Linked DNA regions of Homo sapiens: regions 1 and 2 are each linked to region 3. The links are contacts of gene promoters, found by promoter capture Hi-C in human tissues and cell types (Jung and others, 2019). All regions are on one chromosome and are shown on one strand. The core of a region is centred on a gene start or on the middle of the fragment in contact, and the rest is flanking DNA. Distances in the headings are between cores, read along the strand shown. Region 1 has its middle 23 kb from the start of LINC01290. Region 2 holds the start of LOC107984900 (a long non-coding RNA gene). Region 3 holds the start of ABAT (4-aminobutyrate aminotransferase).

Region 1 (4,867 bases), core at 1,430-3,929, 1.8 Mb before region 3:
GTAAATTAAACAATTATTGACTGGAAACAGCCGTAATGAGCTCTTTTTGCTTTTAAAAGATGGGTCTAAACTTATTGATAAAAATAACAAATAGGCTGGGTGCAGTGGCTCACACCTGTAATCCCAGCACTTTGGGAGGCTGAGGCGGGTGGATTACCTGAGGTCAAGAGTTCGAGACCAGCCTGACCAACATGGTAAAATCCCGTCTCTACTAAATACAAAAAATTAGCTGGGCATGGTGACACATGCCTGTAATCCAAGCTGTGCAGGAGGCTGAGGCAGGAGAATTGCTTGAACCCGGGAGGCAGAGGTTGCAGTGAGCCAAGATTGCACCACTGCACTCCAGCCTGGGCAACAAGAGCGGAAAACTCTGTCTCAATCAATCAATCAGGCAGTAGGTGTTTATCTGGGGTAGGCAACCTGTAGTTAAGGCATTTTCTTGTAAGATCCTTTTCTTGATTGGAAGGATGTCAGAGATATGGATTAGACTTTGTTGGGAAAAAAGGTTTTGAATGTATGTTGATATTAAAACATTATGAATAAAATGACATATCACAGATCTGCATCATAATAATTCAGTGCCTGATGGGAGCTGAGAAGGTATACAGGGTTTAGATGACACAAGGTTGACACGAGTTGAAAATTGTTGGCCGGGCATGGTGGCTCACGCCTGTAATCCCAGCACTTTGGGAGACCGAGGCGGGCGGATCACCTGAGGTCGGGAGTTCGAGACCAGCCTGACCAACATGGAGAGACCCCGTCTCTACTAAAAAATACAAAATTAGCCGGGCATGGAGGCACATGCCTGTAATCCCAGCTACTCCAGAGGCTGAAGCAGGAGAATCGCTTGAACCTGGGAGGCAGAGGTTGCAGTGAGCCAAGCTCGCACCACTGCACTCCAGCCTGGGTGACAGAGGAAGACTCTGTCTCGAAAAAAAAAAAAAAAAAAGTAATGTATGTTGACATTTGAGGGAAGTCACTGAAAGAACAGAAAAACAATGAAATTACTGTAAACAAGCAGAAGGAAGAAGGAAGAAAGGAAACGTTTCAACAGAAGGAATAGAAGGAGAAAAATAAGCAAACAAAAAGGATAATAAACAAAGAAAATACACAAAATAATATGGTATAAAATAAGTCTCACTGCACATTTCAGTTGTGAACCCAAAAGTATGAAAGACAGATCTCAATCGATTTAGAAAGTGTGTTTTGCCAAGGTTAAGGATATTCCTGTGACACACAGCCTCGGTGTTACAGGAAAGCGGTCCCGATCCAGACCCCAAGAGAGGGTTCTTGGACTCCACACAAGAAAGAATTCAGGGTGAGTCCACAGATTAAAGTAAAAGCAAGTTTATTAGGAAAGTAAGGGAATAAAAGAATGGCTACTCCATAGACAGAACAACCCTGATGGCTGCTGGTTGCCCCCCCTTTTTTTTTTTTGAGACAGAGTCTTGCTCTGTCACCCAGGCTGGACTGCAATGGCACGATTCTCCTGCCTCAGCTTCCCAAGTAGCTGGGACTACAGGCACATATGCCATCATACCCAGCTAATTTTTGTATTTTTAGTAGAAACGGGGTTTCACCATATTGGCCAAGCTGGTCTCAAACTCCTGACCTCAGGTGACCCACCCGCCTCGACCTCCCAAAGTGCTGGGATTACAGGCATGAGCCACTGCACCTGTCTGGTTGCCCATTTTTATGGTTATTTCTTGATTATATGCTAAACAAGGGGTGGATTATTCATGCCTCCCCTTTTTTAGACCATATAGGGTAACTTTCATGCGTGTCTGTGTGCAGAGACCACCACACAGGCTTTGTGTGAGCAATAAAGCTTTTTAATCACCTGGGTGCAGGTGGGCTGAAGCGAAGGGAGATAGAGGTGGGGCTGTTTTATAGGATTTGGGTAGGTAGTGGAAAATTACAGTCAAAGGGGGTTGTTCTCTGGCTGGCAGGGGTGGGGGTCACAAGGTGCTCAGTGGGGGAGCTTTTGAGCCAGGATGAGCCAGGAGAAGGAATTTCACAAGGTAATATTGTCAGTTAAGGTAGGAACAGGCCATTTTCACTTCTTTTGTGATTCTTCAGGCCATCTGGATGAATACATGCAGGTTTGGGCTCAGAGGCCTGACAGTAACTTGCTGACATTTCCATGGCATTTGTAAGCTCTCACGGCACTGGTGGGAGTGTAGCAATGAGGATGACCAGAGGTCACTCTTGTAGCCATCTTGGTTTTGTTGGGTTTTAGCCGGCTTCTTTCCTGCAATCTGTTTTAACAGCAAGGTCTTTATGACCTGTATCTTGTGCTGATCTCCTGTGTTGTCCTGTGACTTAGAACGACTTAGTCTGTGAATGCAGCCCAGAAGGTCTCAGCCTTATTTCACCCAGCCCCTATGAAGATGGAGTTGCTCTGGTTCACACACCTCTAACATTAGGAAGTCCAGATGACACGTGCCTACTGTGGTTGGGGCACAGCTTGGATTTATACATTTTAGGGAGATATGAGACATCAATCAATATGTGTACGATGTACATTGGTTTGGCCTGGAAAGGTGGTGTTAGAAATAAGAGCTCAGAGTCATAAAGAAAATGAGCACTCAAACAAAAGATTTCTCAGCAAGCCAAATTTACTTCTGCAGAAAGGTGCAGCTTGCACCAGTCATGACTGCAAGAGCACACTGAGCGGGGGAGGGCAGGGGTTTTATCCCTAACGCAGTTCCTAGCACTTCTGTGTCCTTTCCCCATTGGCTGAGGTTGGACTTCACAATCTAAGCTAAGGTTTAAACTGAATAGGGTCTATTAGATGGGAAGGAAGAGGGACTGTCCTTTACTAGGCCAGAAGGACTTGTCTATCTAAGCACCGCAAAGGCGAGAAGGTTGTTTACAGAACAGGTAGCTAGGAGACAAGGAAGTACAAGGAAGTTGGTCATAAGAAACAAAGAACAGAGAACTAAAGCTTTTTGAAGATTAATTTATCATCTCTGACATTGGGACAACTGGGTGTAGGGTGGGAATTTCCAGGTCATAGGTAGATGAGAGACAAGGGGTGCATTCCTTTGAGTCTCTGATTAGCCTCCCACTGAATATGCAATTTACATGTGAGAGGAGGGTAGAGGAATAGTCACTTAGGCCTTAGTCTGGTTTAGTGAAACAATAGGGCAGAGGAAGCAATCAGATAGGCATTTGTCTCAAGTGAGCAGAAGGAAGACTTTGAGTTCTGTCTGTCCCTTGTCCACAAGGAATTTCCTTCTGGGAAACTTGTGAGGGAGGTATGCAGCTTTTTTTTTTTTTTTTTTTTGCTGTTGTTGTCAAACCTTTGTAGCTATGTTATTTAGGAATAAAATGGGAGGCAGGTTTGCCTGACATAGTTCCCAGCTTGACTTTTCCCTTTTGCTTAGTGATTTTTGGGGTCCCGAGATGTATTTTCCTTTCACACAGTAATCACTATAAATAGAGTCTGAGGGTAGAATCTATCAGATTGAACTGAAATAAACAAACTGTGAAGGAGACCATAAGAACCTCACCCAAATCTCCCAAAGTAAGAGTTCCCAGATTCTTCCAGCTCTGATATAACTTGTGTGTTTTGGATTTTTTTTTTTTTTTGAGATGGAGTCTTGCTCTGTCACCCAGGCTGGAGTGCAGTGGTGCGATGTCGGCTCACTGCTGCAACCTCCGCCTCCCAGTTTCAAGCAATTCTCCTGCCTCAGCCTCCTGAGTAGCTGGGACTAGAGGTGTCCATGACCACGCATGCCTGGCTAATTTTTGTATTTTTAGTAAAGATGGGGTTTCACCATGTTGGCCAGAATGGTCTCGATCTCCTGACTTCGTGAGCCACTGCGCCTGGCTGTGTGTTTTGGATTTTTTTGAGAGTCTGAACTAAAAGAGACTTTGGAGATCTAAATCCTCTCATTATAGTTGAGGAAACTGATTTAGGAAGGGAAAGCTACCTACTCAGGGTTACATATTAAATGAGAGCCAGGGAAACCAGAAACCAGAATCTCCTCCCAATCCAACAATTTTTCCTATTCACCAGAGATTCCCGATTCATCAACCACAGGACATAAGATTAGTCTAGAGCGGATGTCACTGGAAAGGGGTCCCAATCCAGACCCCAAGAGAGGGTTCTTGGACCTCGTGTGAAAAAGAAGTGAGAGCAAGTTTATTAGAGAAATAAAGGAATGAAAGATGACTACTCTGGCTGGGCGCGGTGGCTCACACCTGTAATCCCAGCACTTTAGGAGGCCGAGGCCGGTGGATCACAAGGTGAGGAGGTTGAGACCAGCCTGGCCAATATGGTGAAACCCCATCTCTACTAAAAATACAAAAATTAGCCAGGCATGGTGGCAGGCACCTGTAGTCCCAGCTACTCGGGAGGCTGAGACAGAAGAATTGCTTGAACCCGGGAGGCAGAGGTTTCAGTGAGCTGAGATCACACCCCCGCACTCCAGCCTGGGTGACAGAGCGAGACTCTGTCTCAATTTAAAAAAAAAAAAAAAAAGACTACTCCATAGGCAGAGCAGTGGCATGGGTTGGTCAAATGGGAATACTTACAGTTATTTCTCAATTATATGCTAAACAAGGGGTAGATTATTCATGAGTTTTCTGGGAATTCCTGAAACTGAGGGTTCCTTCCCCTTTTAGACCATATAGGGTAATTCCTTGGCGTTGCCATGGCATTTGTAAACTGTCACGGTGTTGGTGGAGTGTCTTTTAGCATGCTAATGTGTTATAATTAGCGTATAATGAGTGATGAGGGTGACCAGAGGCCACTTTCGTGGTCCTCTTGTTTCTGGTGGGGTTTTGGCCAGCTTCTTTAACGCATGCTGCTTTTTGTTTTTGTTTTTTTTTTTTTCTTTTTTTGGAGACCAAGTCTCGC
Region 2 (5,116 bases), core at 127-2,626, 1.5 Mb before region 3:
CCAGAAGAGGAAACTTCACAGGGAGTGAAAATGACTTGGCCAGGGTCACACAGAGGGTTGCTGGCCATCCTGGGAGAGGATTCAGGTCTCTTGACTTTCTGGATTGAGGACTTTTGCTCCTACCAAGAAAATAAAAACAATAGCAACAACAACAATTTGGGTGGAGAGACAGGAGAGAGGAAGAGGCTTTTCCCCTGTCTTTATTCTTCCTTAAAGTTTGAATTGTTTTTAATGTCAAGCATGTTGTAATTTTAACACATAAAAAATATTAAGGACTGGTTGATATGGTTTGGCTCTGTGTCCCTGCTCAAATCTCATGTCAAATTGTAATCCCCAGCGTTGGAGGAGGGGCTTGGTGGGAGGTGACTGGATCATGGGGGTAGATTTCCTCCTTGCTGTTCTCAGGATAGTGAGTGAGTTCTCATAAGATCTGCTTATTTAAAAGTGTGTGGCACCTACCCCCTTCTCTCTTCCTTCTTCTCTGGCCGTGTAAGCCATGCCTCCTTCCTCTTCACCTTCTGCTATGATTGTAAGTTTCCTGAGGCCTCCCCAGCCATACTTCTTGTATAGCCTGCAGAACTGTGAGCCAATCAAACCTCTTTTCCTTATAAATTACCCAGTCTAAGGTAGTTCTTTATAGCAATGTGAGAATGGACTCATACACTGGTTAAAAAATAAATAATAAAGAAAACCCAGGATTCTAATAATAGTGACTATTTTATTGAGGCCCTTTCATGTGCTAGGAACTCTGTACACACTTGTTCATGCTATCCTCACTGTGTCTCTCCAAGGTGAGAAATTATTGTTCCATTTTGCGCTTTTTTGGGGAGGATCTCCAGGATTCTATGGTTTAGGCACTGGAATCTTGCTGAACGCAGAAAACTTGGATGACCTGTGGTTAGCACTTGGCTTGGCCCCTGTTAGGAGGTGGGCAGTGTGTGTGTGTGCAGCAGCCCTAAAGATCTTATCATAATTTCCTGTTTTCACTTATGGCTTGCTCTGTGGATCGCTGAACTTTGACCAGGAGCAGAGAACCAGAAACAAGGTGATATGTGCCCCTGCTTACCTTCCCCTGATCTCGCATCTCCTTCCTTCCCTTTTCTTCCCCTTTCTTTCCCTTTCCTTTCCTTCCCCTTGCATTTCCTTCCCCTTCCCTCCCGTTCCCTTTCTCCCCTTTTCCCTCTGATCTGGGTGGAGACAACCCACCTGCCTTTCCCTTTTTCATTTTGTTTCCTGAATCATTATACAAAAAGATACCTGCACCCATATGTTTAACCACAGCACTATTCAGAACAGCAAAGATATGGAATCAACCTGAGAGGCCATCAATGGAGGACAGGATAAATAAAATGTAGTATATATACCTATATAAATACACACGCAATGGAATACTATTCAGCCGTAAACATGAATGAAAATTTTTTTGTAGCAACACGGATGGAACTGGAGGCCATGATCATAAATGAAACATCTCAGACACAGAAAGACAAATGCTTGTATGTTCTCACTTGTAAGCAGGGGCTAAATAATATGTACACATGGAAGCAGAGTGTGGGGTGATGGACGGTGGAGACTTGGAGGTGTGGAGGAGGTCAGGTGCGCAGGCAATAGGTGGTTGCCTGGTGGGTATAATGCGTGTGGCTCCAGTGATGGACGTACTGAAGGCCCTGACTTTAGCACAGTGCAACACATCAGTGTAGCAAAAAATAAATTTGGTTCTGACATAGTCTTGCAGCCTAACTATGCACTATAGAGGAAATGATTAAAAATGTAATTATTATTTTCATTTTTCAACAAGCCCAATGGATAATGTTTGCCTACTTTATTAGATTAGATGTAAAGGCGATAAAAAAAATAATAAATAGTTAATAGCATTTTTTGAAGCTTACTCCTTCCAGGCTCTCTCCTTGACCTGTTTAAACTCATTTAAATCTCACAAGTCTATGAGGCATAGCCTCACAGCCCCATTTTGCAGATTGGAAAATCGAGGCACAGAGATGAAATGAGCTGGTGCTTGGAAATGGCCCAGTCTGTGGCTGCCAGACATCTGGGAAGTGTGCGTTCATGGGTTTCCTCTTACTCTCTCTGACAGCTGTCTAATCAAATCCCAGTGCTTGCTGTGAGGACGCCCTGCAAGCCTTCCTTGGCTGAGGGTCCTTAACAAGGGAGATGTCGCCCCGTCGCTTCACCTCAGTTTCCCCTGCTCGGCTCTGCCTTTCTCTCCGAGGTGCTGGGAGGATTCTGTAAATAGTTCCCTCGAGGTGCTGGAAGCACTGGGTGGAGAAACTCACTATAAATACCCGGCACTTATAATTAGCCTTCATGGCGGCACAGTTCTGCATGTGGGGGAGGCGAACACCTGCAGGGGCAGAAAGTCAAAATGCAGGGGCCCAGGTCTCTCCAGAACTGCTTCTTGGCACCACCTGAGCCAGAGAAGACCCATGCTGAGTGAAGAATCCCAGATAAGAACACAGTGGCCCCCCGCCCCCGATCTTGCTGCAGCTGCAGACAAGAGCATTAAGGGCTGGTAGGAGCTCCTGGCTCCATTACTCCCTGTGAGACCTGCAAATTAGTGCAGTCCTCTGAGCCTCAGTTTCCACATCTGTAAGCTGGTGTAGTATACGATAAAAGACATCTGGTGGCTATAAGATTAATGGTAGCCATAAAACCCATCCGAGCATCTTGCGGGGCTGACACTACCTGTCACTTAGTATGATGCAGCCTGGCCCCGGGATTTCCAGGAGACAAAGTTAAATCGGCACAGATATAACTTTCATAAATCTTAAAATAAAGCTTATCCTCACAAGAATAGCTTAAACTCCTTTTATGTAAGAAACACCTGGTAAGGGACCTGGACTGAATATGGATAGAAGGAAGGGGGAAGGATCCCTCAAACTTTGATAATGGTCTCTGGATGGACACCCTCCCGGTCAGTCCGTCATCTGACCCCTGGCTGTGTCTGGCCATGCCACCAGCCTCCTGCTCCCACTGTCTGTCTCATAAGAAGATGCCAGAATAAGCTCCTTAAGCATCAGACTTATGTGCTAAGACTCATCTTTGGCATGGATCAAATGGAAGGAGAGAAGTTACCCCTGGGGAAACTTGTCAACTAGGACCACCTGAAACCCCTGATCATGACGGTTGGAGATAATCACTCCTACTGTGAATAATTAAAGATACTGTGTATAAAGCTCCCAGTATTGGTGCATGGAGTAGGTACTTGACACATTCAAGGTTCTTGTTCCCTTTGTGTGCACAACAGGGCAGACAGCATCTAAGGTGCAATCAGATGGCCCTCTCCCACTTAAAGACTGTCTTAGGCTCCCCATTGGTGGCAGAGGCACCCCATGCCTATGTCTTGCCCCCATGCTCCTCCTCTGTGTTGATATTAACTTCTTCTTCCTCTTTTTTTTTTTTTTTTTTTTTTGAGATGGAGATGGAGTTTCACTCTTGCCACCCAGGCTGGAGTGCAATGGCATGATTTCGGCTCATTGCAACCTCTGCGTTCCAGGTTCAAGCGATTCTCCTGCCTCAGCCTCCTGAGTAGCTGGGATTACAGGCATGTGCCACCATACCAGGCTAATTTTTGTATTTTTAGTAGAGACAGGATTTCACCATGTTGGCCAGGCTTGTCTCGAACTCCTAACCTCAGGTGATCCACCCATTTTAGTCTCCCAAAGTGCTGGGATTACAGGCATGAGCCACTGCGCCCGGCCGCTGATAGTAACTTCTCACTCCACCTCAAGAGTGTGCCTTGAGTCTTTCTGCTTTCTGCCTTCAGGTCTTCTTGGATGCTGTTGAAACCTGCTTAGTCTGTGCAAAAGTCTAGCCCAGAAGTACTGAGTTAACAGCCCGGGAGGCGATCATCAAGATAAATGTGCCACTATCCCTCCTTCAGGTAGAAAATTCCAGGAGGCTTCCTGCATGCTTTTCGCGAGGTCCTTGCAGCACAGAGCTTCTGTTGTTCTCAGTGGTGACCTTGATGATGGACATGTATATTGGTTTGTCTCCTAAATCTTTTCCTTTCCTTGTTCCTGCTTCCAGAAATCAACTTCCAAATCAACCACCTGCACCCAAATCCTGTCTCAGGCTCTGCTTTTGGAGAAGTCAACCCATGAGATCATCACATCTGGAATAAGTTCCAAATTCCTTGCTGTGGCTGCAGGGCCCTGCACAACGCTCTTCTGCCATTCCAACCTCACATCTGCTACCACTCTTGCCCACACCTGCCACATCCAGCCACACCGGCCTCCAGTCACTTTTCTTTAACTTGCCAAGCAATCCCTCCTCAGGGCCTTTGCACATGCTGTTCCCTCCCCCTTCCCCTTCTTCTATGTTAATCAGTCCTTCCTACAGCTCTCAACTTAAATACCAGTCCCTTAGAGAGTGTCGCTTCCTCCTCGCCTCTGATCTCTTGCGGGTTCCAACACCATTTATTCTCTCTCACAACAAATTGTTTCCTTTTCCTTGTACTATTTGAAGTTGTGTATTCATCTGAATGTTTATTTGTTAATTACCTGACTCCTTTTAGACTGTAAACACCATGTGAATAGAGATGACTTCTGTCTACTTCCATGAGCTCTAGAGCATCCACAAGCTCCTTACACATGAGACGTGAGTATTCATTGAATGAAGGTGGGATTCAGGTTGGTCAGTTTCTCCTGCATCCCAAGCTTACTCTACTCTGTTAGGCTATGGGATATTGGCAGAGGACTTTAAGGGAGGTGGGGCATGGGGGAGGGTTAAGAAGTAAGGGAGGCAAGAAAAGCCAGTCTCCATCCTCACCTTCCTTGCTCCCACTTCTCCAGGATCAGAGCATCAGTGGCAACTGAATGAGACATGCCAGTTTGGGCTCAGGCTCCAAGAGGACACATCCAAGTACATCTCCACGACCAGGAGGTTCATGCGCTTGGTCCTCTGTGCGTTAAGGGAGCTTGGGCATTTATCCATGACTTTGCACACCTGGTACCCAAGCTGTGATTTCAGGATTCTAGGTCTTCATCTGGAGCAAAGCTGGAGTGTGACTCCAGGGGCCCAGGAAGGCCAATCTTCATCCTAAGCCTCTGTAAGAATAGGGCCAACTTGAAGCTAGTATGTGTAACTCCGTGCATTTTCT
Region 3 (4,973 bases), core at 309-2,808:
CTCGAGAAAACACATTTCTCTATGACTCCACGCCGCAACACAGGCTCCAAAGAGCAAGACACAACTCACTGCCTCCCTCTCTCCTGCCTCCCAACCTGACCCACCAGAGAAGAGCTCTTCCCACCCCCTCCCCACCCCCAGGTCACCAACATCCTGTCCCTTAGTCTAGCTTCATCAAAGCAGCAAAGCCAACACTGTCTCCTCCCCAGTGGATGGGCCCAGCAGCACCCATTTCTCTTGGCTGAGTGCCCAGGGAATTCCACCAGGCAATGTCCACAGGCGCTTGCGGGGGTGCACACTTTAGGGGGGAAATGCGGGCCCTCTTGGAAGAGGGCCAGCTGTCCTCCCAGACTGCAAGAGAGAATGCATTGAACACAGCCTTTGTGCGTGTGTTGGGGCAGGGAGCGGGGGAGAGGTGGCGGGTGGTCTCTGCTGGTCCTGCTGCCTCAGAGGCCATCTCTGTTGTCAGAGTTTGAAGACTCCTGGAAGGGCCTCTAGGCCCCAGATCCCAGTTTTAAGAGCTCCAGTCTTACTAAATCTCGCTGAACCCCCTCTAGTCTTACCTTGGCCAGGGTGGGTGAGGAAAGGTGAGAGGATGTGAAATAGGTGGGGCAGCCAGGTGTGGGAGTGGAGTTGGGGTGAGGTGGAGAAGGATGGGATTGGGAGCGGTGGGAGGATGGTGCAGGGGGTTACTAGGATGGGGTTTGTGTGAAAGGGCTTGGGTGGAGTGGAGGGAGGTGGATGACTTGGAGGGGTGGCCAGACCTTTGCCCTGCTCCTGAGTATGAAGGTCCCTCATTTTACATCTTTACTGGGGAGGAGAGGGGAAATCCCCAAAAGCCTTTAATGTGGTGGTGTCAGAGGCCACCCTGCCTCTCTGACGGGTAGGGAGGGGTCTCCGGCAGGGCTAAGGGTGAATCATCTATCTCTCCAGAGCCCAGTATCTGGGGTGGGAGGGTGACTTGCAGAGTCTCTGCTCCGGGATTTCCTTGTCTTATGATGGGGGGAGAGCTTCCATTTGTCATGGAGGGGGAGGTCACTGTAATTTATAAGCTGAGAAGACCCCCATTATTCCGAAAGAGAGGGGAGAAGGAAGACACCCAAACTTAGTTTTCTAAGGATGGGGAAGGGGCATCAGTCTCCCAAGAGGTGAGGGGGCTCTAGAGACCTGGAGACCACTTTTTGGGGCCGCATTCTATTTCAAGCGGTAAAAGGGAGAGGACTTCTGTCTAGAGCTGGAGCCAGGAGGAAGGGCCCATTTCTGAAGGAGAAAGGAAGGTATTTTGCTCTCTGGGGGGTGGGAGCCCCTGTCTTTTCGGGGGAGGGCCCCGCGTCTTGGGAAGATGAGGGCTCCGTTTCCAGGAGAAGATGCCCAGGTTTTGCTCCTGGGGGCAGGGCAGAAGGACCTCCTCTCGGCTCCCCTCGGAAGGGCCCGTCCCAAGCCACCCGGCGCCTCGCGCTCACCTCCAGGCCCCGTCTCCGATCTGCGGGATCCGATCCGCCGGGTTCCGACTTGCGGGATGCGCGCCCCGAGTTCCGGCAGCGCTGGGTGTCTGCTCGACTTCCCCCAGCGACTCGCCGGACTCCCTGGCTCCGCCGAGCGTCCCGGCCAATCAGCGCCGCCAGCCCCGGCCCTCGCTTTCGCCACAGCCAATGGGTGCGCCCGCCACGGGCCACCGCCCCCAGGAGGGAGGTGGCAGGCGGGGCGGGGGCAGAGTCCAGCCTCCGGGGGCGGGGGAGACGGGGGCTGGGGCGGGACCCACCAGAGGGACCGCGAGGGCTGGGAGGGAGTCCTGGGACTGGGGAGGAGACGGCTGAGGACCCCCGTCAAGTTGTGGGGACCCTGACCCTCTGGGGGGCAGCTCCATAGGTTGATTTAACCTGGATCTTAATGGGCCATTTACACCCTCAGGGCTGCAGGCGAGTGTAACTCCACCTCCACCCGCGTCTCGGATCCGGTCTCTGGAGCTCCAGAGTCGGAATCAGAAGGGGTTCCTTTGCGGAGAAGGGAAGGAGCATCCCGCCCTCCCCACCTCACTCCCCATCTCGGCGCTCAGGGCCCTGCCAGCCCTTCTTGCTCCCAGCTACTTTCCTCCGCCTGGCCCCAGCGCTCCGGAAGACAAACAGGGCGCTGGGAGTCAGAGGTGGTTCCTTCTGCATGACCTGGAGCAGGTCACTGCGCCTCCTGATCCTCAATTTCCTGAAATTGGGACAACAGAGATTGTACCTCCTTCGTGGGTATAAACGAGACCCTAGATATGATGAAGGTGCCTTTCTACCGTTGTATAAAATGCTGTGTGGAAGATAATTAATACTCAGGTGTGACGGATGGATAGCCCCCCCACAGCTTTCTAGAGGTATTTGGAAAGAGGATGCAATCTTTCAGTGACAAAATCAAAGACACAAAGAACTGCTCATCAAGACAACAGGCGATCACCAAGTCCTCATAATGAATGAATGGATGGATGGAGAGTACAGACCTTAAAGGCAGAGAAAGAGTTCAGCTTGGTTCTCCCCACTCACCCTGATCACTGATAACTTGGTCTGTGGAGTCTTGTAGAACCCTGAGGTCTCTCCTCCTGCTGTCCAGGAATCCAGGCTGCCCTATCTCTGATTACACAAGCGCTATAGTCCTTGCAATTAAAGAATTAAGATAAAGTAAACACATAGATAAATAGAAAGCTGCCAAACAAATCATTCACCTCCTAGTGTCACCTCTGGGGACCCTCCCCCCCAACACACACACACACACACACACACACACACACACACACACACAGAGCAGTAAATAAGAATAATTGAGGCCTGGCACAGTGGCTTACGCCTGTAATTCCAGCACTTTGGGAGGCCGAGGCAGGCAGATCACTTGATGCCCAGAGCTCGAGACCAGCCTGGCCATCATGGGGAAACCCCCTTTCTATTAAAAATACAAAAATTAGCCTGGCATGGTGGCACCTGCCTGTAATCCCAGCTACCTGGGAGGCTGAGACATGAGAATCGCTTGAATGGAGAGGCAGTGGTTGCACTGAGGTGAGATGGCACCACTGCACTCTAGCCTGGGTGATTGTCACCTTGCTTGAGGAACTTGATGAGGCCTGTGCTGAAAATCTAGCAATTTTTTCTTAAAACCAAAGCCATGAACATAATCCCCTTTACTACCCTTGACCTGCCCAAAGAAATACAACGGCCAATAAACATGGGAGATGACACTTTGAAAAGGAAAGGCAAGTTAAAACCAAAAGAGGGAAAGAGTTTACCTACCAAAATGACCTTGTTTTTATTATTATAATTACTATTCTTTGCAAAGACTTCAAGGAGTTTCATGTATTGATGATGGCAGTAGAAAGATCACAGCCTTTCTGGAGGGAAATTGGGTATTTCTATTTTAAAAATCTTAAAAGTAAGTTGACCCTTTGATCTAGCAATCCAATCCCTATGAACTTATCTGAAAACATTTAAAGGTACAAAGATTTAATGATAAAGTAGCTTACTACCATTTTGTTTATCACAGGGAAAAACTGGGAACAACTTGAATGCACAACAGCAGGGACTCAGAGGGAAATTGTTGCATGAAATTGAACAATAAACATAGGTATGAAATATTGAATGGGGCTGGGTGTGGTGACACGCCTGTAATTCCAGCACTTTGGGAAGCCAAGGCAAGAGGATCGCTTGAGCCAAGGAGTTCAAGACCAGCCTGGGTAACATAGTGAAACCCTGTCTCTACAAAAAATACAAAAATTATCCGGGCGATGTGGCGCATGCATGTAGTCCCAGCTACTCAGGAGACTGAGGCAGCCTTGAGCCTGGGAGGTTGAGGCTGCTGTGGGCCAAGATTACACCACTGTACTCCAGCTGGGTGACAGAGTGAGACCCTGTCTCAAAAACAAAACAAAACAAATCTCAAAATGTTAAGTTATTTGCAAAAACAGTATATTTGGTACTGTCTTACTTTTTGTTAAACATCTTACTTTTTGTTAAATCTACCAGGTAGAGCTAGATCAATGCTGTGTAATATAACTTTCTATGATGCTCTATATCTGTGCCGTCCCGTGTGGTAGCCACTAGCCACATGGAGGTATTGAACACCTGAAATGACTAATTTTGGTATCCAAGATGTTTAAAAAAAAAAAAGAAAGAAAGAAATAATAAAAAAAGGAAAAGGGAAAAATAAATTTAAAATTTTGGAAAAAGCAATGACTAGTTAACCGAATAACTGTATTTTAATTGTATCTATTTATTTATTTTTTTAGAGACGGAGTCTCGCTCTGTCACCCAGGCTGGAGTGCAGTGGTGTGATCTCAGCTCGCTGCAACCTCTGCCTCCCAGGTTCAAGCGGTTCTCCTGCCTAAGCCTCCTGAGTAGTTGGGATTACAAGCGTGCTCCACCACGCCTGGCTCGTTGTTTAATTTTTTAATTTTTAGTAGAGACAGGGTTTCGTCATGTTGGCCAGGCTGGTCTCAAACTCCTGGCCTCCAGTGATCTGCCTGCCTCAGCCTCCCAAAGTGCTGGGATTACAGGTGTGAACCACCACGCCCAGCCTGTATCTAATTTTAATTTAAGGTGTAACAGTAACAGGTAGCTAGTGGCTATCATATTAAAAGGCACCGATATAGCTAGCTAGCAATGCTGAGTGAAAAACTGTGTTCAGTAGGAGAATGGTTATTTTTGTGTATTGAAATTATAGATTATTCTAATATTACTTTATTTGCATGTCCATGTCAGTAATTTCTTTTTATCCCCTTGGGTTTATTTTTAATAGAGGATAAACTTTACAATGTCACTAATTTCTAATTATTCTGTAATGAATATATATTACTCTGGTACTAAGAAGAAAATATTTAAAATGAAAAACAGAAAGGAAAAGTCTAAACCAAAGGGCCCGGAGTGGTGGCTCACACCTGTAATCCCAGTATTCTGGGAGGCTGAGGCGGGCAGATCACTTGAGGCCAGGGGTTCGAGACCAGCCTGGCC

The links. The method cuts DNA at HindIII sites, captures the fragments that hold promoters and counts their contacts. A contact is called where the count stands out against the background at its distance.
Region 1: a contact is called between a fragment that was not itself captured here and the fragment with the promoter of ABAT in region 3, in 1 of the 25 tissues and cell types used here (mesenchymal stem cells).
Region 2: a fragment that was not itself captured here is called in contact with the fragment with the promoter of ABAT in region 3 in 1 of the 25 tissues and cell types used here (lymphoblastoid cells).

The regions. Positions count from the first base shown.
Region 1 is chr16:10,502,749-10,507,615 of GRCh38, reverse strand. No RefSeq gene overlaps it. Among named protein-coding and RNA genes, the nearest start is that of LINC01290, 23 kb to the left of the region's middle. RefSeq lists an enhancer at 2,863-3,670. The HindIII fragment of the contact is 3,947 bases long and covers 706-4,652 here.
Region 2 is chr16:10,215,871-10,220,986 of GRCh38, reverse strand. It overlaps LOC107984900 (a long non-coding RNA gene), which reads left to right and starts at 3,827. Exons shown (of 3, transcript XR_001752076.3): 1 at 3,827-3,898; 2 at 4,532-4,614; 3 at 4,809-5,116. The HindIII fragment of the contact is 4,714 bases long and covers 1-3,733 here.
Region 3 is chr16:8,671,202-8,676,174 of GRCh38, reverse strand. ABAT (4-aminobutyrate aminotransferase) reads right to left here and starts at 1,558. Exons shown (of 16, transcript NM_020686.6): 1 at 1,464-1,558. RefSeq lists a silencer at 1,506-1,965 and enhancers at 1,560-2,059, 2,060-2,561. The HindIII fragment of the contact is 24,430 bases long and covers 1-4,973 here.